Regions from separate parts of the Homo sapiens genome. Here all the other regions are linked to region 1. Evidence: promoter capture Hi-C in human tissues and cell types (Jung and others, 2019). All regions are on one chromosome and are shown on one strand. The core of a region is centred on a gene start or on the middle of the fragment in contact, and the rest is flanking DNA. Distances in the headings are between cores, read along the strand shown. Region 1 holds the start of IL31RA (interleukin 31 receptor A). Region 2 overlaps MTREX (Mtr4 exosome RNA helicase). Region 3 overlaps PLPP1 (phospholipid phosphatase 1). Region 4 has its middle 5.6 kb from the start of ANKRD55. Region 5 overlaps PLPP1 (phospholipid phosphatase 1). Region 6 overlaps ANKRD55 (ankyrin repeat domain 55).

Evidence for each region. The method cuts DNA at HindIII sites, captures the fragments that hold promoters and counts their contacts. A contact is called where the count stands out against the background at its distance.
Region 2: a contact is called between a fragment that was not itself captured here and the fragment with the promoter of IL31RA in region 1, in 3 of the 25 tissues and cell types used here (IMR-90 fibroblasts, mesenchymal stem cells and pancreas).
Region 3: a fragment that was not itself captured here is called in contact with the fragment with the promoter of IL31RA in region 1 in 1 of the 25 tissues and cell types used here (mesenchymal stem cells).
Region 4: a fragment that was not itself captured here is called in contact with the fragment with the promoter of IL31RA in region 1 in 2 of the 25 tissues and cell types used here (adrenal gland and hippocampus).
Region 5: a contact is called between a fragment that was not itself captured here and the fragment with the promoter of IL31RA in region 1, in 1 of the 25 tissues and cell types used here (pancreas).
Region 6: a fragment that was not itself captured here is called in contact with the fragment with the promoter of IL31RA in region 1 in 2 of the 25 tissues and cell types used here (adrenal gland and aorta).

The regions. Positions count from the first base shown.
Region 1 is chr5:55,849,561-55,853,283 of GRCh38, reverse strand. It overlaps IL31RA (interleukin 31 receptor A), which reads right to left and starts at 1,927. Exons shown (of 15, transcript NM_139017.7): 1 at 1,651-1,927. The coding sequence starts at 1,713. The HindIII fragment of the contact is 16,782 bases long and covers 1-3,723 here.
Region 2 is chr5:55,406,455-55,410,177 of GRCh38, reverse strand. The region is part of intron 22 of MTREX (Mtr4 exosome RNA helicase); the gene reads right to left. Among named protein-coding and RNA genes, the nearest start is that of MTREX, 100 kb to the right of the region's middle. The HindIII fragment of the contact is 6,080 bases long and covers 1-3,723 here.
Region 3 is chr5:55,456,280-55,460,002 of GRCh38, reverse strand. All of the region lies in intron 3 of PLPP1 (phospholipid phosphatase 1), which reads left to right. Among named protein-coding and RNA genes, the nearest start is that of MIR5687, 51 kb to the left of the region's middle. The HindIII fragment of the contact is 4,795 bases long and covers 1-3,723 here.
Region 4 is chr5:56,237,038-56,240,760 of GRCh38, reverse strand. No RefSeq gene overlaps it. Among named protein-coding and RNA genes, the nearest start is that of ANKRD55, 5.6 kb to the right of the region's middle. RefSeq lists an enhancer at 1-605. The HindIII fragment of the contact is 3,787 bases long and covers 1-3,686 here.
Region 5 is chr5:55,521,919-55,525,641 of GRCh38, reverse strand. All of the region lies in intron 1 of PLPP1 (phospholipid phosphatase 1), which reads left to right. Among named protein-coding and RNA genes, the nearest start is that of PLPP1, 11 kb to the left of the region's middle. The HindIII fragment of the contact is 6,739 bases long and covers 1-3,723 here.
Region 6 is chr5:56,131,185-56,134,907 of GRCh38, reverse strand. The region is part of intron 7 of ANKRD55 (ankyrin repeat domain 55); the gene reads left to right. It overlaps LOC101928419 (a long non-coding RNA gene), which reads right to left. Exons shown (of 2, transcript XR_241794.2): 2 at 3,452-3,723. Among named protein-coding and RNA genes, the nearest start is that of ANKRD55, 100 kb to the left of the region's middle. The HindIII fragment of the contact is 3,461 bases long and covers 387-3,723 here.

The DNA.
Region 1 (3,723 bases), core at 678-3,177:
AAAAAAAAAGGATCATCTGAAAGACCAGAAACAACTAAAAGAAGTGACTAACTTTTAAATTTTCTCTTCAGGAAGTCCTTACAAATGTGGTAATAGCTGAAACAGTGAGAGTATCTTTAGCTTGAAATGAGAAATACGCAATCATGTTAACTGTCTTTAGACAATGAAGGAGATGAAGGAAAGAAAATAATGGTAGCTGACTCCAAAAAGAGGCTTACAAATTCTTATTTACGTCTAAAGGAAAACATACTGAACTGAGAAACCAGAGCTTCAGTTTAGCCACTAGTAATAATCATCATTAATAATTTGTGGAGCTCTTACTGTGTGTCAGGCATAGTACTAAGAACTTCACATTAATTATCTCTTTTAATCTTCACAACAATCCTATAACATCAGGAGTATTTTTATTCCCACTTTATAGGCAAGGAAACTGAGGTCAAAACAGTAAGCAACATGTCCTACATGGGTGGTGGAGCCAAGACTTGAACCAAGGCAGCCTGACTCTCAGTTTCCTAGCAATCAAAGGTTCAAATTAGATTATTTCTAGGATCCCTTCTAGTACCACAATTTTGCAACCGTTTGTAATGGACTGACAAAACCACGAGAAATAAATAGACCGGGGAAGAGATTATGATGCAAAAGGAAAGAAAACTAAGTTTTAAAACAAGCTATGCTTTCCAGCCCCACATTTTAATTTTTAACCCATTCCCCATCTTCCTTAGGCAATGTTCCACTAAGTAGGAGGAATAAGGGTGAGAAAGAGAGCTAGTCTTTTACCTAGAAGATTATAATTATGAGATATTTAAAATTCCAGCCAGGCGTGGTGGCTCACGCCTGTAATCCCAGCACTTTGGGAGGCTGAGGCAGGTGGATCACCTGATGTCAGGAGTTTGAGACCAGCCTGACCAACATGGCAAAACCCCATCTCTACTAAAAATACAAAAAAATTAGTCAGGCATGGTGGCAGGCACCTGTAATCCCAGCTACTCGGGAGGCTGAGGCAGGAGAATCGCTTGAACCCGGGAGGCAGAGGTTGCAGTGAGCCAAGATCGTGCCATTGTACTCCAACCTGGCGACAAGAGTGAAACTCTGTCTCAAAAAATAAATAAAATAAAATAAAATAAAATTCCATTATAATATACTATAGAGAAAAGCTAAATGCTAGCACAAAAATAGCAAGCATTTCTTGAATTTATTCAACCAATACTTAGTAAACACCTATTACATGCATAACAGCTCACTAAAGGTGTTGTGTATTAAATAGAATTCTGGTTAAGACAAGACCAATTGAGCATATACATTTATCTCTACTCTCTCAGGAAACTCCACAAAAATTATGGCAAAGATATAGAACCACAAGACAAAACAAATGGGAAGAGGCAACAGCAAATAAGAGATGTCAACAAATCTTTGGAAAAAGAGAAATGAATCAAGCCATAACTGAACTGGTAAAGATGAGAAAGCAGAAACCTAGAAATGCCTAATAAGGTTGCCAACAATAAGCAAACATAATTATGCCACGGAATCTCATACGGCTCAGGATTTGAGACACTAGGTAGGTAAAATCAACCCTCATTACTCACAGCTTCCTTATTTGTGAATTCACCTACTTGCTAGGAATTATTTGTAACCCCCCAAATCAATACTCACAATGTTTTGCGGACATTCACAGACACATGCCGTGGTGAAAAACTTGAGTTGCCTGATGCACATTCCCAGCTGAGGTGGAACAAGCTGACACTCTGCCTTCCTGTCTCAATTTTCATACTGCACACACATGTCTTTTCATGGTCTATTTAGTGCCATGCTGGTTATTACTATTTTTTTTTGCAATTTTTTGCCTTTTATGAGTGATTTTGCTGTTTCGAATGCCCCCCAAGCAGAGTGCTGGAGTGCTGTCTGGTGTTCCTAAGCAGAAGGAGGCTGTGCCTCATGGAGAAAATATGTGTGTTAAATAAGCTCTATTCAGGCATGAGTCATAGTACTGTTATTAGCCATGAGTTCAATGTTGATGAATCAACAATGTATATTAAATAAGGTGTCTTTAAACAGAAACACACACAAAACAAGGTTATGTATTGATTAGCTGACAAAAATGTTGTGACCAGAGGCTCACAGGCACCTAACTCTATATTTCCCCCACAGAGAATAATTCAGTATTTTCTTTTTTTCTTTTTTTTTTTCTTCTGAGACAGAGTTTCGCTCTTGTTGCTTAGGCTGGAGTGCAATTGCGCCATCTCAGCTCACCGCAACCTCCACCTCCCGGGTTGAAGTGATTCTCCTGCCTCAGGCCAGCCTCCCATGTAGCTGGGATTACAGGCATGCGCCACCAAGCCCAGCTGATTTTGTATTTTTAGTAGAGACGGGGTTTCTCCATGTTGTTCAGGCTGGTCTCAAACTCCTGACCTCAGGTGATCCACCTGCCTCGGCCTCCCAAAGTGCTGGGATTACAGGCATGAGCCACCACGCTCAGCAGTATTTTCTAATTCAGTGTTTGTGGCGATTTTATTGAACATAATTGCCAGGAATAATGAAGGAATAATGAGAATTGACTATACCTCTGAAACAAAAATCATAAGATTGGTTGAAAATCTGAAAAAGAAATAGACTACCTAATCCTAACCCCACAAAGCCAAATTCATTAAATTTCTCCCATCCCAACAGCAGATGGGGGGAAAAAACTTGAAAGAAAGGCAATGCAGAAAGCAGAATATTTTTTAAAAGAAATATTAGTTAAACCTTCATAGAAAATAAGAAAAAATGTTGTACCCACAAAATATGAATAGGATGCTATGATAAAGGCATAATTAGAGAACAAGAACTCTTGGAGATTCAAAATATGAGAGCTGAAGTCTAAAGACTAGAAAATAAAGTTGAGGAAATCTTCCAGAAGATAGAAGAAAAGACAAAGAGATGAAGAATAGCCAACATCTGACTACCAGCAGTACAGAAGCACAGAACAGAGGAATGGAGGGAAAGAAATAATGAGAGAAGTGATACAATAAAATTCCCAAGAATTGAGGAACATTTGTTTCCAGATTGAAAGGGCCCACTGTAAACAGCATAATAAATGAAAATAAATCTACACTGAAGTACAAAACAGTGAAGTTTCAGAATATCAAGAATAAACAGAAAAAAAATGTTTCCAGATAGGAAAAAAATAAGTCACATACAAAGGATCAAGGATGAGAATGGCTTTAGACTTAATAACAAAACCAGAAGTTAGAAAGCAATGGATCAATTCCTTTATAACTCTATTGGAAAATTATTTCTCACCTAGGATGCTCTACCCATCCAAATGATCCATCAGAAAGAAAGGTAAAACAACGTTCTTGAAACTGCATTTTCCAACATGCCAAGTTTCAAGAACTTTATCTCCCATGTGACCATTTTCGAGATGTTATTGAAAAAAGTGACTACAAAAACAAGAGCATAAGCCAAAACAAAAAGGAAAAATGGGCTCCCAAAAACAGCAAATTTCAAATAGAAGAGAGAGAATTCCAAGAATGGTGGCCAAGGGAGATCCCAAGATGATAAGAGTACAACAGGCTTGGAGAGCAACTAGCCCAAGTGAGTGGCAGACGCCAGGCTCAAGGAGGGATATTTCCAATGAAAAAATACATGGAGGGGACCCAATGGATCTGACAGATGTTGAAACTTGAAAAGTTTTGCAGCACTCTTAGAAAGTTTGGAGAAGGATGAGTAATCGGCTCAGTAAGTTAA
Region 2 (3,723 bases), core at 682-3,181, 440 kb after region 1:
CAAATAATCTGTAGAATAAAGATAATGAAAAACAATTTTACTAGAAATCTTAATTAGAATGTACTCATAAGAAGAACCACATTTTTTTATTTTTATGTTTTAATTTTTTAAAGTTTTTATATTATAGTAGAGATGGGGTCTTGCTATGTTGTCCAGGCTGGTCTAGAACTCCTGAGCTCAAGTAGTCCTCCCACCTCGGTCTCCCCAAATGCTGGGATTACAGGTGTGAGACACTACACCTGGCCAGAAGACTCACATTTTAATTCATATTTTCCAAAGGCTGAAAGTGTATATAACCAAGATGGGCAAGAGCCTTTAAATGCAACAAACTGCTGCTCACCAATTGTCATCCACAAATCTGAAAAATATCCATCTAGGAAATACAATTCTAGATTTCAAGTACATCTCTAACAGGTAGGTACTAGCTCATCACTACGTCTGTTTCTTCTTGCACTTGCACTGTCAAAATGTACAAGTCCAGATTTACATCTCTTTTAAGTTCTAGCTTATTACTTTTGATTCCTCTTTTGCATCATCAAAATACAGTTTTTTAAACTGACAACTTGATTTTGTTGAGAGGAAGGTCATCTTCTTTGCTCCATAATTGTGAAACATTTTCATATACAGACTTATAAGGACAATATATTTATTATTACAAAGATTAGAATGATCAATTCAACAGGTTTTAAAAAATTTCTTCATCATCTCTTTCCAATTTCCTTATATACACAACTGTGTATTTGACCACTTGTGGACCATATAAGGAAACTTTGGTGCACAAATAATAAAAGATGAAAGACTATTATTACAAGTCCTTTTAGCAAAATGAGATGGTCCAGGTTCTTATCATAGACGTTACATAACTAGGCCCTTTCTGTTGAATGATTACATGAATAATAATCTCATATATATATATATCCCTAGAAATATATTGTTCAGCAGAGCACAGTGGCTCCTGGCTCATTTGGGAAGCTGAAACAGGTAGATCTCTTGAGCCCAGGAGTTCAAGACTAGCCTAGCAACATGGCAAAACCCTGTCTCTACAAAGCAATACAAAAATAAGCTGAGCGTGGTGGCACACGCCTGTAGTCCCAGCTACTCAGGAGGCTGAGGTGGGAGGATCACTTAAGCCCAGGAGGTCAAGACTGCACTGAGCCATGATCTTGCCACTGCATTCCAGCCTGGGTGACAGAGCTAGACCTTGTCTCAAAATAAATAAATAAATAAATAAATAAATAAATAAATAAATAAATAAATAAAAATATTGTTCATGCACTAGTTATTATGTCTGAGAATTTACTTAGGGTCTGAGACTTTGCTTATATAATCAATCTCACCATTATCACTTTGACTACAGTGCTTTTTGTCCCTTTGTGTTTATCTTCTGATTTGAGTAATAACTGCAAAATATCTTCACTTATTTTTCTTCTTGGGTGGAAAATGAAAAATTCTGAATTTGCAACTGTGTTCAATTCAAGCTAAAAAAGAAACACTACAAAGATGATGTTTCTAGACTTCTATAATCAGGGTTCAATTGACCCATACAATAACTGTACTGTATTATTAAAAAAGTAAACTTTGCCTTTATTTTTTGCAAAGTCTTTAAAAAAGAATAAAGCCATGAACTATTATAATCTTTACTAACAGTTAAAATATTTATAAATAAAAGTCAAAAACTAAATTTGGGTCTCTAGTGTTAAGCTTAAGAGTTAAGTCAAGCAAAGAGTGCAACAATACAAACGAGGAAAGACTATTTCAAGAAGCTACAGTCTAACATTGGGGGCAGACAAGTAAGGTGATAATCACAGAACAGTGGTTTAACAGAGTGCTCTAATAATTGATTTATACAAGTGTTATGAGGAAAAAAAGGTGAGGAGCCTAAAACCAGATTGAAGAAGTTCAGAGCAAGTTTCGAAGTTCTTTGCAAAAATATGCAAGAATCGCAGGATATGGGGTGGGGGTGAAAGGTCATATGAAGCAAAAGGAAAAGCATGTGTGGGGTGTGGCAACAGACTGCTGGAGAGGGAGAGTAACAATATACTAAATTATGGAATCTATTCTAAAAGCAATAAGGAATCACTGAGGGACTTTTACCAAATAGAATGGCACAAAGGGGCTGGGTGCTGGGTGAAGTGGCTCACACCTGTAATCCCAGCAATTTGGGTGGTAAGGTGGGCGGACTGCTTAATTACAGGAGTTCAAGACCAGCCTGGGCAACATAGCAAGACCCTATCTCTACAGAAACTTAAAAAAGAAATTAGCCAGGCTTGATGGCACACACTTACAGTCCCAGGTTCTTGGGAGACTGAGGCAGGAAGATCACTTGAGCCTGGCAAGTTGAGGCTGCGGTGAGCCGAGATTGCACCACTGCACCCCAGCCTGGGCAACAGAGCAAAATCCCATCTCAAGAAGGAAAGAGGAACGACATACCAGATTTGTGCTTTGGGTTTTGAAAACTCAAGAAGGGAGGCAACGAATAATCAGGAGGGCAACTGCAGTAATTGAGGCCAAAAATAATGAGGGATACACATTAGCCAGTGGCAATGTTTAAAAAGGCAAAATGGGTGAGAGAAGGAGTCTAGGATGATGCCCCAGTTTTTGCAAATTTGGGGGAAAGTTAACAAACTTTGATATAATATTGTTATTACTATAAATGAAAAATGTATCTTGGAATAAAATCAATTTCCATTCTTTCAACACAAAATCTAGTTGTAGATATCTAAAGGAAATTAATTTCTATATTAATTGTAAAACAGGTAATTATTAGAAGGAAATAATCCCAATAACATTAGCATATAAATCAGTAGACCAGTACTGCAGTTTAGATTTAATCCTGGATATGTTATTAATTAAAATCCAATAGCACATTATCCTGTGATAACAACTAACTAGGGCTGGGTAGTCACTGCCCCCTTTTGGTGGCTAAGAGTTGTCCTGTTCACCACAGTCTCCTGGTTCTATGAAGACATCTGAGTCTGTAACATCTGGACAGATGAACGATATAATTACATTTTTACCAAGAAAGTCTGAAATCATTTACAAGGCCTGTAATTCTCTAGTCCTGTCCATCCTGGCCATGCTGAGTACATAAAAAACTGTTTCAAAAGTGTCTTTTATATATTCACTGAGAATTATGATCATCACTATATGGACAAAACAAGATATATCTTCAGACTGGATATTGCTTGAGCTACCAGTTTATGACTTTCCAGTTAAGGAGGACAGAGGCAAGCTGGCTCCTAAGGCAGGAGACATTCCTCGTGGTGGGAAATAACGAACACATTTTTTAGAACAGTATCATAAATTGTATTTTCTAAAGATGGCCACAACAGCATCTCCTATACCACATTCTTCTAGAATTGCACTGATCTATAAAGACTGCCATGTGCATACGTGGAAATTTCAATTTCAATTAAAATGATATAAATTATAAAATTCAGTTCCTTTGTCTAAGCACACATCAAATGCTAAATAGTGGCTACTATACTGAACAGTGTAGACACAGAACAATCCAATTATCACAGAAAGCCATACTGAACAATAGCCACTTCCCCATCAAGAGTTGGAATCTAATTATCCCCCACTTGAATCCAGGAGGGTTTATGACTCACCTGTAATCAAGAGAATGTGGTGGAAATGATGGTGTATGATAACAAAGCTAGGTTACAAAAGGTAAAGCTAGGTCAGAAAAGGCAACCTTAGCCAGCTAGAAGACTCACACTG
Region 3 (3,723 bases), core at 916-3,415, 390 kb after region 1:
CTTCTTACAATGAAGTGTGGTAGAGAAAAGAAAATGAGAAAACCATAATGAAGACAAAAATATGTATCTGCTATTCAGTAAGTGGAAATGGATCATCCTAAAGGTCTTTATCCTCATTTTCTTCACTGAGTAGGCTGAGGAGGAGGAAGAGGAGAGGTTGGTCTTGTCTCAGGGGTGAGGGAGGTAGAAGGGAGGCAGGAAAGGCAGGCATGCTCAATGTAGCTGTTATTGAAGAAAATCTGCATGTAAATGGACCTACACAGTTCAAACCTGAGTTGTTCAAGGGCTAACAATACTTTCTAATTTCCCTTGCGTCTTCCTCTTTGATCTGTGGATTATGTAGGGGATTTTGCATTTATCTTTCTGTCATCGATTTCTAATTTAATTTCATTGTGTTTAGAGAACATACTTTATATGATTAGAATTCTTTCAAATTAGTTGATTCCCATCCCCCTGGGCCCCCACATTTTTCACATACAGTCTATTCTGGAGAATGTTCCATGTGCACTTGAAGAGCATGTGTTTTCTGGGTGAAATGTTCTATAGAAATCAGTTTGGTCAAGTTGGTTGATAGTGTTACTCAAATCTTATATATCTTTACTGATTTTTTTTTAACCAACATGTTTTATGAGTTATTTTTTGGGGAGCTTGAAATCTCTAACTATAATTGTTGAATTGTCTTTTTGTCCTTTCATTTGCGTAAACTTTGTTTTTTTATCTTGTGGCCGTGCTGTTCAATATGTAGCACTTACAAGTGTCGTTTTTTTTTTCTGCTGTATTGCTCCTTTTTGGTATCAATGTATTTCTTTGTGTTTAGAAATATTCTTTGTTTTAAAGTCTATTTTGCCTGATATTAATATATAGTCACTCTAATTCTCTTATGCTTATTGTTTGGGTTATATATTTTTCTATAAGTAAAACTTTTAGCTTATTCGAATCTCTGAATTTAAAGTGTATCTTTTAGAGACAATATATAGTCATATCTTGCTTATTCTTTTTAATCCAGACTGAAAAATCTTTGCCCTTTGATCACAAATTTAATGTAATTACCAATATGGCTGGATTTTTCTGCCATTTTGCTATGTGTTTTTTTTTTTTTTTTTTTTTTTTTTTTTGGAGACAGGGTCTCCTCTGTTGCCCAGACTGGAGTGCAGTGGCATAATCTTGGCCCACTGCAGCCTCTGCCTCCTGAGTTCAAGCAATTCTCCCACTTCAGCCTCCCGAGTAGCTGGGATTACAGGCATGCGCCACCACGCCCAATTAATTTTTGCATTTTTAGTAGAGATGGGGTTTCACCATGTTGGACAGTGTGGTCCCGAACTCCTGACTTCAGGTGATCCACCCACCTTGGCCTCCCTAAATGCTGGGACTACAGGCGTGAGCCACCACGCCCAGCCTTGCTATGTATTTTCTATGTTTCGTCTCTTTGTTACTGTTCTTCCTATACTGCTTTCCTTTGTATGAAACAATTTTTTTTTAGTGTAGCAATTTAAGTATCCTACTGACATGTTATCTGTTTTTTTGGTTGTTTCTCTAGGGGTTACAATATACATCTTCATATATTTAATTTTTTTTTTTAAGGTTAATACATGACTAAGCTACAGGAAAAAAAAGCATATATGTATTAGTTTATTATTTACTTATAACCAAATGAAGAAAGGTGTTTATTTTCAGTGATCATAGATTAACCTGGGAGTTAACTATCTTCTTATTTTCTGGCATAAATATCCAAGCTTTTGCATGCTGACCATTTGTTACTCATTTTCATCCTTTTGGCATTCTTGTAACATAGGCATGGACAATAATATTGTCCCACTTTTATGAATAAAGAACTTGAAGCACAGTAAGGATTAGCATCTTGTTTTTGATTCTAGAAACTTAATAAAATGGAAGTGGGACTTCAGTATCAGGGTGTTGATTCTCTGTTTTGTACTTTTCCACCAAATGCCATGCCTATGTCTCTAATATCTCTCTTGGATCAACCAACATGTTAATAAGTTAGGCAGGAAAACTCTAATCTTTTCTCTCAGCCAGCAAATTTAAGAAAGTCATTGTGGTGATGAGTGTACCTAAAGTCTAGAAAATGTCATTGTAAATGATTTTTTTTTTTTTTTGAGACAGAGTCTCGCTGTGTCACCCAGGCTGGAGTGCAGTGGCGTGATCTTGGCTCACTGCAACCTCTGCCTCCCGGGTTCAAGCGATTCTCCTGCCTCAGCCTCCTGAGTAGCTGGGACTACAGGCGCCCGCCACCACGTCCAGCTAATTTGTGTATTTTTAGTAGAGATGGGGTTTCACCATATTGGCCAGGCTGGTCTCGAACTGCTGACCTTGTGATCTGCCCACCTTGGCCTCCCAGAGTGCTGGGATTACAGGCGTGAGCCCCCTTGCAAATTATTCATACATATATTATTTCTCTGGTTCAGGTACATAAATCTTATTTTGTTTTAGCTGAGAATTTTCTTGTGATATTTCTTATTGATGATATTTTTGTTTCTTGCACAAGCCATTTTGACAAAATGTGAAATATATTTATTTAAAATGGTATAAAAATAATTATTTTGTGATATATACATGTCATACTCATTCACTGTCTCTTCCTGGTGTATATAAATTGGCTGCCATATACTGTTACTTTGATTGCACTTTTAACCTAAGTATACTTAGGCTTTTTACCTATTTAAAATTTCTACAGCCATCCATATGCAAGTGTCCGCTTACAGTCCTGTGTAAGGGTTGGGAAAGCACCCTCTTTAAAAGCAGAATTAATTTTGGATAACTGAAATTGAAGAGCTATATATGTTGAAAGTAATTATTATTTATAGCTTTTTTTTTTTTTTTGGTCTGAGACGGAGTCTCACTCTGTCGCCCAGCCTGGAGTGCAGTGGTGTGATCTCTGCTCACTGCAACCTCTGCCTCCCAAGCTCAAGCGGTTCTCCTGCCTCAGCCTGCAGAGTAGCTAGGATTACAGGCCTGCACCACCCTCCCCGGGTAATTTTTGTATTTGTAGTAGAGACGGGGTTTCACCATGTTGGCCAGGCTGGTCTCAAACTCCTGACCTCATGATCTGCCCACCTTAGCCTCCCAAAGTGCTGGGATTATAGGCGTGAGCCACTGCACCAGGCCTGTTTATAGCTTTTAAGATAAGCTCCCTTAGTAAGCTTTGGGGTTCTGAAGCAAGGAGCAAGGAAAATCAAATATAGAAAAAGTTTTAGAAAGACTTTGTATCTTCCTAGAAAAATGTAATTTCCATCTGTCTTTCCAGAATGAGTCAGTTGTTGCCAATTTCAGAGCTGTATAATAGTGGTACATAACTGTGGGTATGCATTGCTGTTCTATTGTGGAGTGTAGTTTGGCTGGATACATACTTTCCTATTATTTTTCTCTTGAATTTTGAAAGTCAGAAAGCTAAAAATGCAAAAAATCCAGTCTAAATATTGTCTATAGTTTTTTAGGATTATAGTGTAATCTGCTCTTTTAACTTATGTATCTCTACAGCCTGCCACCATATAAGCTTTTAATTATAAAATTATGATGCTTGACATTGGGGAGAAAGGAACATAAGCACCCATAATGAGTCATTTTTGTTGACTGTATAAATGAGTCAGAGTTACATGTAAGGATGAGAATATCCTCCTACAATTTTGGTTTTTGATCTTGATTTTTTCCCATTGACTCTCTTTTCTCCCCGCCATTCTCTCTCTTGCACGTAGCACACTTTTGCGC
Region 4 (3,723 bases), core at 544-3,043, 390 kb before region 1:
TGCTAAAATTGAAACAAGAACAAATATTATATTTATGGGGAAGTTTGAGTGGAAGAATGGTGAAATCGTTGATCTTTTATGAAAAGTTTATGAGCTCAACGCTCCCAAAGAAATCAGTCGTTTATCAATGAATAACTCATTTTAAGAAAGGACGAGATCACTTTGGAAATGAAGCCTGAAACAGTAGATCATCCATTTCAATTTGCAAGGAAAAAATTCAACTTGTTTATACCTTAATTGAAGAGAAATGACGATTAACAGCAGAAACAATAACCAATAACATAGACATCTCAATTGGATCAGCTTACACAAATCTGACTGAAAAATTGAAATTAAGGAAACTTTCCACTTGATGGATGCATCAAATAGTAGTTCTGTTTTAATTTATTTGAGAAATCTCCAAACTACTTTCCACAGTGGCTGCATTAATTTACATTCCCACCAATAGTATATAAGTGTTCTCTTTTCTCCACAACCTCTCCAGCATCTGTTACTTTTTGACTTTTTAGTAATAGCCACTCTGACTGATGGGAGATGGGTCTAATTGTGGTTTTTGATTTGCATTTCTCTAACGATTAGTGATGTTGAGCATTTTTTCATATGCTTATTGGTTACGGGTATGTCTCTTTAAAAGTGTCTATTCATGTCCGAGCACAGTGTCTCACTCCTGTAATCCTAGCACTTTGGGAGGCTGAGGTGGGCAGATTGCTTGAGCTCAGAAGTTCAAGACCGGCCTGGCCAATATGGTGAAACCTCATCTCTACAAAACAGTACAAAAAAGTTAGCCAGACATGATGGCATGCACCCGGAGTCCCAGCTACTTTTGGGGCTGAGGCAGAAGGATTGCTTGAACCTGGGAGGTGGAGGCTATAGTAAGTTTAGATTGCACCATTGTGCTCTAGCCTGGGTGACAAAGTGAGACCTTGTCTTGGAAAAAAAAAAAATGTGTCTGTTCATGTCCTTTGCCCATTTTTTAATGGGATTTTTTCTTGTTTATAAATTTGTTTAAGTTGCTTTTAGATTCTGGATATTAGACCTTTGTCAGATGCATAATTTGCAAACATTTTCTCCCATTCTGTAGGTCGTCTGTTTACTCTGTTGATAGTTTCTTTTGCTATGCAGGAGCTCTTTCATTTAATTAGGTACCATTTGTCAATTGCTTTGGTGTCTTTGTCATGAAAGACAACATAGGCATAGGCATATTTGTCAGGGCCTATGTCCAGAATGTTATTTCCTAGGTTATCTTCCAGGATTTTTTATAGTTTTAAGTTTTACTTTTAAGTCTTTAATCCATCTTGAGTTGATTTTTGTACATGGTGTAAGGAAGGGGTCCAGTTCCAATCTTCTGCACATTGCTAGCCAGTTATCCCACCACCATTTATTGAACAGGGAGTCCTTTCTCCATTCCTTGTTTTTGTCAACTTTGTTGAAGATCAGATGGTTGTAGGTGTGCAGCATTATTTGTGGGCTCTCTATTCTGTTCCATTGGTCTATGTGTCTGTTTTGGTACCAGTACCATGCTGTTTTGGTTACTGTAACCTTGTAGTATAGTTTGAAGTTGGGTAATGTGACGCCTTCAGCTTTGTTGTTTTTGCTTAGGATTGCTTTGGCTATTCAGGCTCTTTTGGTTTCATATAAATTTTAGAATCGTTTTTTTCTAATTCTAAAAATTTTTCTAATTTTTCTCTAATTCTGTGAAAAATGTCATTGATAAGTTGATAGGCATACCATTCAATCTGTAAATTGGTTTGGGCAGTATGGCCATTTTAACAATATTGATTCCTTCTTATCCACAAGCATGGAATGTTTTTTCATTTGTTTGTATCATCTCTGATTTCTTTCAGAAAAGAATAATAAAAGAATCTGTTTGAAAGATAATTCTCATTATAGAGCTCTTTCACCTCCCTGGTTAGCTGTATTCCTAGGTATTGCGTATGTGTGTGTCTGTGTGTGTGTATATGTATGTGTGTGTGTATGTGTATGGCTGTTGTGAATGGGATTGCGTTCTTGTTTTGGCACTCAGCTTGGATGTTGTTGGTATATAGAAATGCTACTAATTTTTGTACATTGATCTTGTATCCTGAAACTTTGCTGAAGTTGTTTACCAGATGTAGGAGCTTTGGGGCAGAGAGAATATGAGGTTTTCTAGGTATAAAATCATATCATCTGCAAACATAGATAGTTTGACTTCCTCTTTTCCTGTTTGGATGCCTTTTATTTCTTTCTCTTGCCTGATTGCTCAGTCTAGGACTTCCAGTACTATGTTGAATAGGAGTGGTGAGAGTAGGAATCTTTGTCTTGTTCCAATTCTCAGAGGGAATGCTTCCAGAATTCAGTACAGTCCTGCCTATACTGGGTTGCCCATTCAGTATGTTTTTGGCTGTGAGTTTGTCATAGATGGCTCTTATTATTTTGAGATATATTCCTTCAATGCCTAGTTTGTTTAGGGTTTTAAACATGAAGGGATGTTGAATATTATTGAAATTCTTTTCTGATCTAGTAAGATGATCATGCGGCTTTTGTTTTTAGGTCTGTGTATGTGATGAATCATATTTATTGATTGGCATATGTTGAATCAACCTTGCATGCTAGGGATAAAACCCACTTGATTATGGTGGATTAACTTTTTAATGTGCTACTAGATTCAGTTTGCTAGTATTTTGTTGAGGATTTTTGGATTTATGTTCATCAAGAATGTTGTCTTGTCACCTGAAATAAACTGTTTCTGGTGGTCTTTACTAATAGGTATTGAGAGGAAAAAGCATTTGCCAGAGCAGTAACTGCATACTATGTACCAGAGAGTGTTTTAATTTGCTCAAGGAATAAAACCATATCTGAACAACAGCTGCAATTGGAGTTGCCACCTGGTTAAGCTTACTATAATCCACTGTTATTCTCGAAGATCCACCTGTCTTCTGCCAAATTGGAAAGCATATTGGAGAGTTGAATGGAGATGTGGTGGGAATCACCACCCCTGCATCCTTCAGGTCCTTTATGACCTCTACAGTTCCCCCAGAAATGTCGTATTGCTTTTGGTTTAGTATTTTCCTAGGTAGACACAGTTCTAGTGGCTTCCACTTGGCCTTTCCCACCATAATAGCCCTTACTCCACGATTCAGGGAACCAATGTAGAGATTCTGTGAGCTGCTAAGTATGTCTATTCTAATTGTGCATCCAGAACTGGGGAAATGACCACAGGATGGCATTGGGGCCCATTAGACCCACTGTGAGATGGATCTGAGCTGAAATCCCATTGACCGCATGACCTTCAAAAGTCCCTCCTCTGACTGGCAGGCCACAGTGATATTTTGAGTCTCCTGAAATTAGTGTCAGCTCAGAGCCAATGTCCAGTAAGCCCTGAGAGGTCTGATTATTTCTCTTTTCTCAATGCACAGTTACCCTAGTAAAAAGGCCATACATCTCTTTTGGGGAAAACTGAGAGAAAGATTAACAGTATAAACATTTAGTAGGGTACCAGGGCCTTTCCTCAAGGGCTCCAGCCTCCCCTTCATTTAAGGGGTTTTAGGTTTGTAAACAGGCTCAATTCTGGGAATTAATTGAGGGATCATGATTCTCTGTTTTTATGATTCGTGTTAGACTTTTGTCACTTAACCTAGAGCTTTTCTGCTTATGCAGATTAAGAATTTCATAGGCTTCCTATCTATTTTACTTTGAGAAACGCCATGATCAACTAGCCAATGCCATAGGTTTCTATGACTCAGA
Region 5 (3,723 bases), core at 785-3,284, 330 kb after region 1:
ATTGGGGGCCAGGCATGGTGGCTCATGCCTGTAATCCCAGCACTTTGGGGGACTGAGGTGGGAGGATCTCTTGAGCCCCAGAGTTCAAGACCAGCCTGGGCAACATCGTGAGACCCCATTTCTATTTTTTTAAACAAACAAAAATTATAAAATTGGGAATGACTTGTTCCTTATAAGCTATGAAAAACTAGTCTATGTATTTTCTTTAAAATGTTAGGCAGCATAGTCTAGTGATGGACTGTGGATTCAAATTTTAGCTCCTCCATTGAACTCTGTGACCTTGGGAAAGTTTTCTCTTTGTGCCTGTATTCTTTAGCTATATAATGAAAGTACCTATGGTTATCTTAAATGAGACTTAAGTGAATCAATATGTAAAGTGCCTTGCACTTAATATGCATGATGTATGTTTGTCAAGTAAAATAATTCTCTAATCCTACTACCTGTAACATAATAATTATATTAGTAGAAATAACATCAACTAGTTTTGTATTAGGGACAAAAACACAAACTTTAAAATGTTTCTCATGAGTACTCATGGAATGCTTTTGAAACTTAGTGTTTTATTAGTCATGTGTGAAAGCCACATACATGATTTCTAAGTAGTGGTAATTCCAGCCATGGTGAAAATTGATCTGTGTAGGTCTGTGGTGGAGAGTAATTAAACGAATGGAAAAACTGTTATTTTATACAGTGATAAGTCCTGAATTTCAGCTTACTCCAGAAAGTGGAGTTAGCTACACTCTAGTCACCTTTTTATTGCTGAGGTCTTGGGAATGATTACTCCACTTATAAAAAAGTAGAGTTAATATTCCTAAAACTTTTTTTTGGGGGGGGACGTAGTTTCACTCTTGTCGCCCAGGCTGGAATGCAACGGCATGATCTTGGCTCACTGCAACCTCTGCCTTCTAGGTACAAGCGATTCTCCTGCCTCAACCTCCTGAGTAGCTGGGATTACAGGTGCCCACCACCACGTCGGGCTAATTTTTGTATTTTTAGTAGAGATGGGGTTTCACCATGTTGGCCAGGCTAGTCTGAAACTCCTGACCTCAGGTGATCCACCCGTCTTGGCTCCCAAAGTGCTGGGATTACAGGTGTGAGCCACTGCACCTGGCCCAATATTCCCAAAACTTTTGAATGACCTTAATTATACATCCTCATTTGTATAAATTCTGTTATTTGAATTGCTCTTGGCGATTAAACAGGCAGCAAGGAAAAACCGTTGTGTAATACTTCTCTATATCCTCCCTCTCCCTAAACCAAGCTTGTCCGACCCATGGCCCACAGGCTGCATGCAACCCAGGATGGCTTTGAATATGGTCCAACACAAATTTGTAAACTTTCTTAAAACATTATAAGATTTTTTTGCAATTTTTTTTTAAGCTCATTGGCTATTGTTAGTGTTAGTGTGTTTTATGTGTGCCCCAAGACAATTCTTCTAGTGTACTCCAGGGAAGCCAAAAGATTGGACACTGCTGCATCTAAACTCTTTTTCAAACATTGTGACATATGTTAAACTCAAATTGTTTTTAAAATTGTGTGAGCACAATGTTGTTTTAAAGTATTTGACATTGCATCATTTTTTATTTATTTATTAAGCAGACATTATTTGCTGTAATACAATGCTAGGAGCTGCAAATACCAGTGCAAAAAAGATCAGCTCTCCATACCAGTGTATATAAGACAATTACAGATGTTTGTAAAAGCTATGACAGAATTAAAGCAAGATTATAAGAAAGTTAGACTTTTGGGGATAGCAGTCTCAATGAAGGCTCTCTAAAGGGGGAATATTTGAATTGAGAGGTATTGGACTTGAGATTTAAGGAACAAAATGAGTTGGCCGTGGAGGAGCTGGGGGAAAATTCCAAGCATAGGGAGGAGCAGGTGTTGAGGGCAAAAGAAGAAAAGGGCATTTTGTCACAGAAAAGAGGCCAGTGTGGCTGGAATATGGTATGTATCAATGGTATTTTTAATAGTGAATTTTGTAACTTTTATTTCTAAATGCCAGAATGGATAAAAATAATAATTGACATTTATTTAGTGCTCTCTAGGCTTGGTACAGCCAGTGCAGTCTCTCGACAACTCTCTTAGGAGCTTGGTCATCTGCATTCTGTAGATGACGGAAGTGAGGGCTGGGAAAGTTGGGAAACTCACCCAAGGCAACCTGGCTAACAATGGTATAGTCAGGAATTGGGAAGTGCATTTTTGAGGATTATAACTTTTGAATGCAGATTAACTAGTGTGTATTTGGGAAAGGTTGTAATAAATGGAGAGGGTGAAGTGGGGATGGTTGATGAGTACAAAAAATAGGTAGAATGAATAAGATCTAGTATTTGATAGTACAGCAGTGATTATAGTCAATAATAATTTAATTGTACATTTAAAAATAACGAAAACAGTATAATTGGATTGTTCGTAACACAAAGAATAAATGGTTGAGGTGACAGATACCCCATTTACCCTGATGTAATGATTATAAATTATATACCTCTATCAAGATATCCCATGTGCCCCATATGTATGTATATTTACTATGTACCCACAAAAATTAAAAGTAAAAAAAATATGGAGAGGGTGAGAAAGGCAAGAATGTGGGAATTCATTGTCTATAAAAACAATCATTATTGGGCCTGGCGTGGTGGGTCATGCCTATAATCCCAGCACTTTGGGAGGCCAACGTGGGTGGATCACGAGGTCAGGAGATCAAGACCATCCTGGTTAACACGCTGAAACCCCGTCTGTACTAAAAATACAAAAAATTAGCTGGGCGTGGTGGCGGGCGCCTGTAGTCCCAGCTACTCAGGAGGCTGAGGCAGGAGAATGGCGTGAACCCAGGAGGTGGAGCTTGCAGTGAGCCGAGATTGCGCCACTCCAAACTGGATGACAGAGTGAGGCTCCGTCTCAAAAACAAAACAAAACAAAACAAAACAAAACAAAACAAAACAAAACAAAATGATTATTTTAGATGGCTTAAATATTTTGTAACTATTTTAGTTTTATGTTTAACTAGTTATGATGTAGTTTCAGAGTCAGTTTCTGCTTACCATTTTGAGTATATCTGCTGTCTAAAAGAGGCACTTTAAAGTTGGGAGCAGTGGCTTATACCTGTAATCCCAGCACATTGGGAGGCTGAGGCAGGAGGATTGCTTGAGGTCAGAAGTTGCAGGTTGCAGTGAGCTGTGATTGTGCCACTGCACTTCCAGCCTGGGCAACAGAGCGAGACTCTGTATCTATAAAAACAAACAAAAAGAAGAGGCACTTTAATATTTCATATCTCAGACTCCCAATAACTATTAAGCATTAGCAATGAGGTTATATCATACTGGAGGATGTAACTAATTTCCCCTATTCAGTAACATGCTCACAGACTTTTTCTTCAAATAGCGTTGTTATAGGCATTCCTTTCAGGTTTTCACAGGAAAGGAAGATCTTTGTCTCTCCCTGTGTTTTAGATGAATCGTGTATGGAGTTCAGAGTGACCTTTGGTAATGCATTCTAGCAGATATAGTTAGAATCTCGTGATTTAGTCCTCAGTTGTCACTGCTTGGAAATGTTTCCTGAGTCTTTTTCAGGGTGGGGTGTCCAGGAAAATGACATATAGGAAACGTGTAGCAGATGAGCCCTTCAGTTAATTGGCAGCTTGTCACGGCAGATTCTGCCTTGCCTTTTGGTTCATTTGCATCAGTAGTAGGAGAGATGGGTTTGCTGCTTGGTGCTGGAGAGGTA
Region 6 (3,723 bases), core at 868-3,367, 280 kb before region 1:
TGACCATGATGTATAATTCTTTTTTTACGTTGCTAGATTCTATTCACTAATATGTTGTTGAGGACATTTACATCTATCTTTATGAAAGTTATTGGTCTATAGTTTTCTTATAATATCTTTGTTTTGTTTTGTATTAGGGTGATACTGACTGATAGAATGAGTTAGGAAGTTCCCTAGGCTTCTATCTTCTGAAAGAGATTCTTAAAAAACCGTTATATTTTTCTTGAATGTTTGGTAAAATTTACCAGTGAATACATCTGAGCCTCATATTTCCATTTTAGAAGGTTATTAATTATTTATTCAATTTATATCTTTTTTTTTTTTTTTGAGACAGAGTCTCTCACTCTGTCACCCAGGCTGGAGTGCAATGACACGATCTCGGCTCACTGCAACCTCCAACTCCCGGGTTCAAGCAATTCTCTTGCCCCAGCTTCCCAAGTAGCTGGGATTACAGGCGCCTGCCACCACGCCAGGCTAATTTTTTGTATTTTCAGTAGACACCAGGTTTCGCCATGTTGGCCAGGCTGGTCTCGAACTCCTGACCTCAGGTGATCCACCTGTCTCGGCCTCCCAAAGTGCTGGGATAACAGGCGTAAGCCACCGCACCCAGCCTATTCAGTTTCTTTAATAGACATAAACGTATTCAGATTATCTATTTCTCCTTGTGGGTGTTTTGGTAGATTGTGTCTTTTAAGGAATTGGTCCATTTCAAATATGTTATCAAGTTGTGAAAATAGAGTTGTTTAAAGTATTTCTTCATCATTCTTTTAATGTCCATGGGATCTGTAGTGAAGTACCTTTTTTCATTTCTGATATTAAGTAATTTGTTTCCCTCTGTTTTTTTCTAGCCTGGCTAGAGGCTTATCACTTTTATTAATCTTTTCTAAGAACCAGCTTTTGGTTTCATTGATTTTCTCTATTGATTTTCTGTTTTCTACTTCATTGATTTCTTCTCTAATTTTTATTTTTTCTTTTCTTCTGCTTATTTTGGATTTAATTTGCTCTTCTTTTTCTAGCTTCCTAAGATGTAAGCTTATATAATTGATTCTAGATCTTTCTTCTTTTTTAATATATACATTCAAAGCTGTAAATTTTCTTCTGAGAAATTGTTTTTGCTACATCCCACAAATTTTGATGTTATCTTCCTTTTGTTCAAAGTATTTTTTTAATTTATCTTGCAATTTCTTCTTTTGAACCATGTGTTACTTATATTGTTTAATCTCCACATGTTCAGAAATTTTCCAGTTGTCTGTTGTTGATTTGTAGTTTAATGCTACCATGGTCTGAAAGCCTGCATTGTATGATTTCTATTCTTTCACTTTTGTTAAGGTTTGTTTTATGGCCCAGACTGTAGTCTATCTCGGTGAAGGTCCCATGTGAGCTTGTTAAAAATGTGTATTTTGCTGTTAGATGAAGTAGTCAGTAGACATCAATTGTATCCAATTAATTAATTGTTTTTTTTTTTTTTTGAGACGGAGTCTTCCTCTGTCACCCAGGCTGGAGTGCAGTGGCACAATCTCGGCTCACTACAACCTCCGCCTCCTAGGTTCAAGCCATTCTCCTACCTCAGTCTCCCCAGTAGCTGGGATTACAGGCATGCACCACCATGCCCAGCTAGTTTTTGTATTTTTAGTAGAGATGGGGTTTCACCATGTTGGCTAGGCTGGTCTCGAACTCCCGACCTTGTGATCTGCCCACCTCAGCCTCCCAAAGTGCTGGGATTACAGGCATGAGCCATCGTGCCCGGCCAATTAATTGTATTTTTAAGTTCAACTATATTCCTACTGATTTTCTGCTTTCTGGATCTGTCCATTTCTGATAGAGGGATGTTGAAGTCTTCAACTATAAAGCGGACTCATCTGTTTCTTCTTGCAGCTTTATCAGGTTTTGCCTCGCATATTTTGAGGCTGTGTTGTTCGGTACATAAGGATCGTTATGTCTTCTTGGAGAACTGACCTCTTTATCATTATGTAATACCCTTCTTTATCCCTAACAACTTTCTTTGTTTTGTAGTCTGCACTGTCTAGAATTATAATATATAGCTACTCCTGCTTTCTTTTGGTTAGTGTTTTCATGGTAAATCTTTCACCACTCATTCACTTTTAATCTATATGTGTCATTATATTTAAAGTGGGTTTCTTATAGACAACATATAGTTGGGTCTTATTTTTCTATCCACCCTGACAATCTCTGTCTTTTGATTGGTACATTTAGACCATTGATGTTCAGAGTGATTATTCATATAGTTAGAGTAACATCGATCATATTTGTTACTGTTTTCTATTTGCTGCCCTTATTCTTTTTTTTTTTTTTTTTTTAGATAGAGTCTCATTCTGTCACCCAGGCAGGAGTGCAGTGGCGCGATCTCTGCTCACTGCAAGCTCCGCCTCTCAGGTTCACGCCATTCTCCTGCCTCAGCCTCCTGAGTAGTTGGGACTACAGGCGCCCGCCACCACACCCAGCTAATTTTTTTTTTTTTTTTTGTATTTTAAGTAGAGACAGGGTTTCACCGTGTTAGCCAGGATGGTCTCGATCTCCTGACCTTGTGATCCGCCCATGCCCTTATTCTTTGTTCCTATTTTTGTCTTCTACTCTTCTTCCACCTTTTGTGGTTTTAATTAGCATTTTGTATTATTCTATTTTCTCTCTTTTCTTAGCATATTAGTTATACTTCCTTTTTTACTTTTTTAGTGATTGCCCTAGAGTATACCAAGTATGTTTACAACTAATCGAAATCCACTTCAAAATAACACTATACCACTTCATGGGTAGTGCGAATACTTTATAATAACTAAATGATTCTAATTCCTTCCACCTGTCCCTAGTATGATTGCTGTCATTCATTTTACTTATATATAAGCATACATAAGCTTATATATATGTATATAGATATAAAGATAGATGCATTAGCATACATTGTAGCTGTTAGTAATTTGAACAAACTATTATCTCCTAGGTTAATTAACAATAAAAAATAAAAGTTTTTATTTTACCTTCACTTATTCCTTCTTCAGCGTTCTTCTTTTCTTTACGTAAATCAGAGTTTCTGGCCTATATCATTTTTCTTCTCTTCTAAGAAACTACTTTTTTTTTTTTTTTTTTTTTTTTTTTTGAGACGGAGTCTTGCTCTGTTGCCCAGGCTGGAGTGCAATGGCGCGATCTCGGCTCACTGCAACCTCTGCCTCCCGGGTTCAAGCGATTCTCCTGTCTCAGCCTTCCGAGTAGCTGGGATCACAGGCACGCACCACCACACCCGGCTAATTTTTGTATTTTTAGCAGAGACGGGGTTTCTCCATATTGATCAGGCTGGTCTCGAACTCCTGATCTCAGGTGATCCACCTGCCTCAGCCTCCCAAAATGCTGGGATTACAGGCATGAGCCACCGCACCCGTCAAGAAACTACTTTTAACATCTAGTACAATGCAGGTCTACCAGTAACAAATTCCCTCAATTTTTGTTTATCTAAGAAAGTATTTATTGCTCCTTCACTTTTGAAGGACAGTTTCATAAGGTACAGAATTCTTGTTGATGGGAGGCTTTTCTCAACTCTTTAAGTATTTCACTCCAGTCTCTTCTTGCTTGTATGGTTTCTGAGAAATCAGAGGTAATCCTTCTCTTTGCTCCTCTATAGGTAAGGTGTTCTTTTCCTCTGGCTTCCTTCTGGACTTTTTCTTTATCTTTGGTTTTCTGTAATTGGAAAATAATATGCCTAGGCATAGGGTT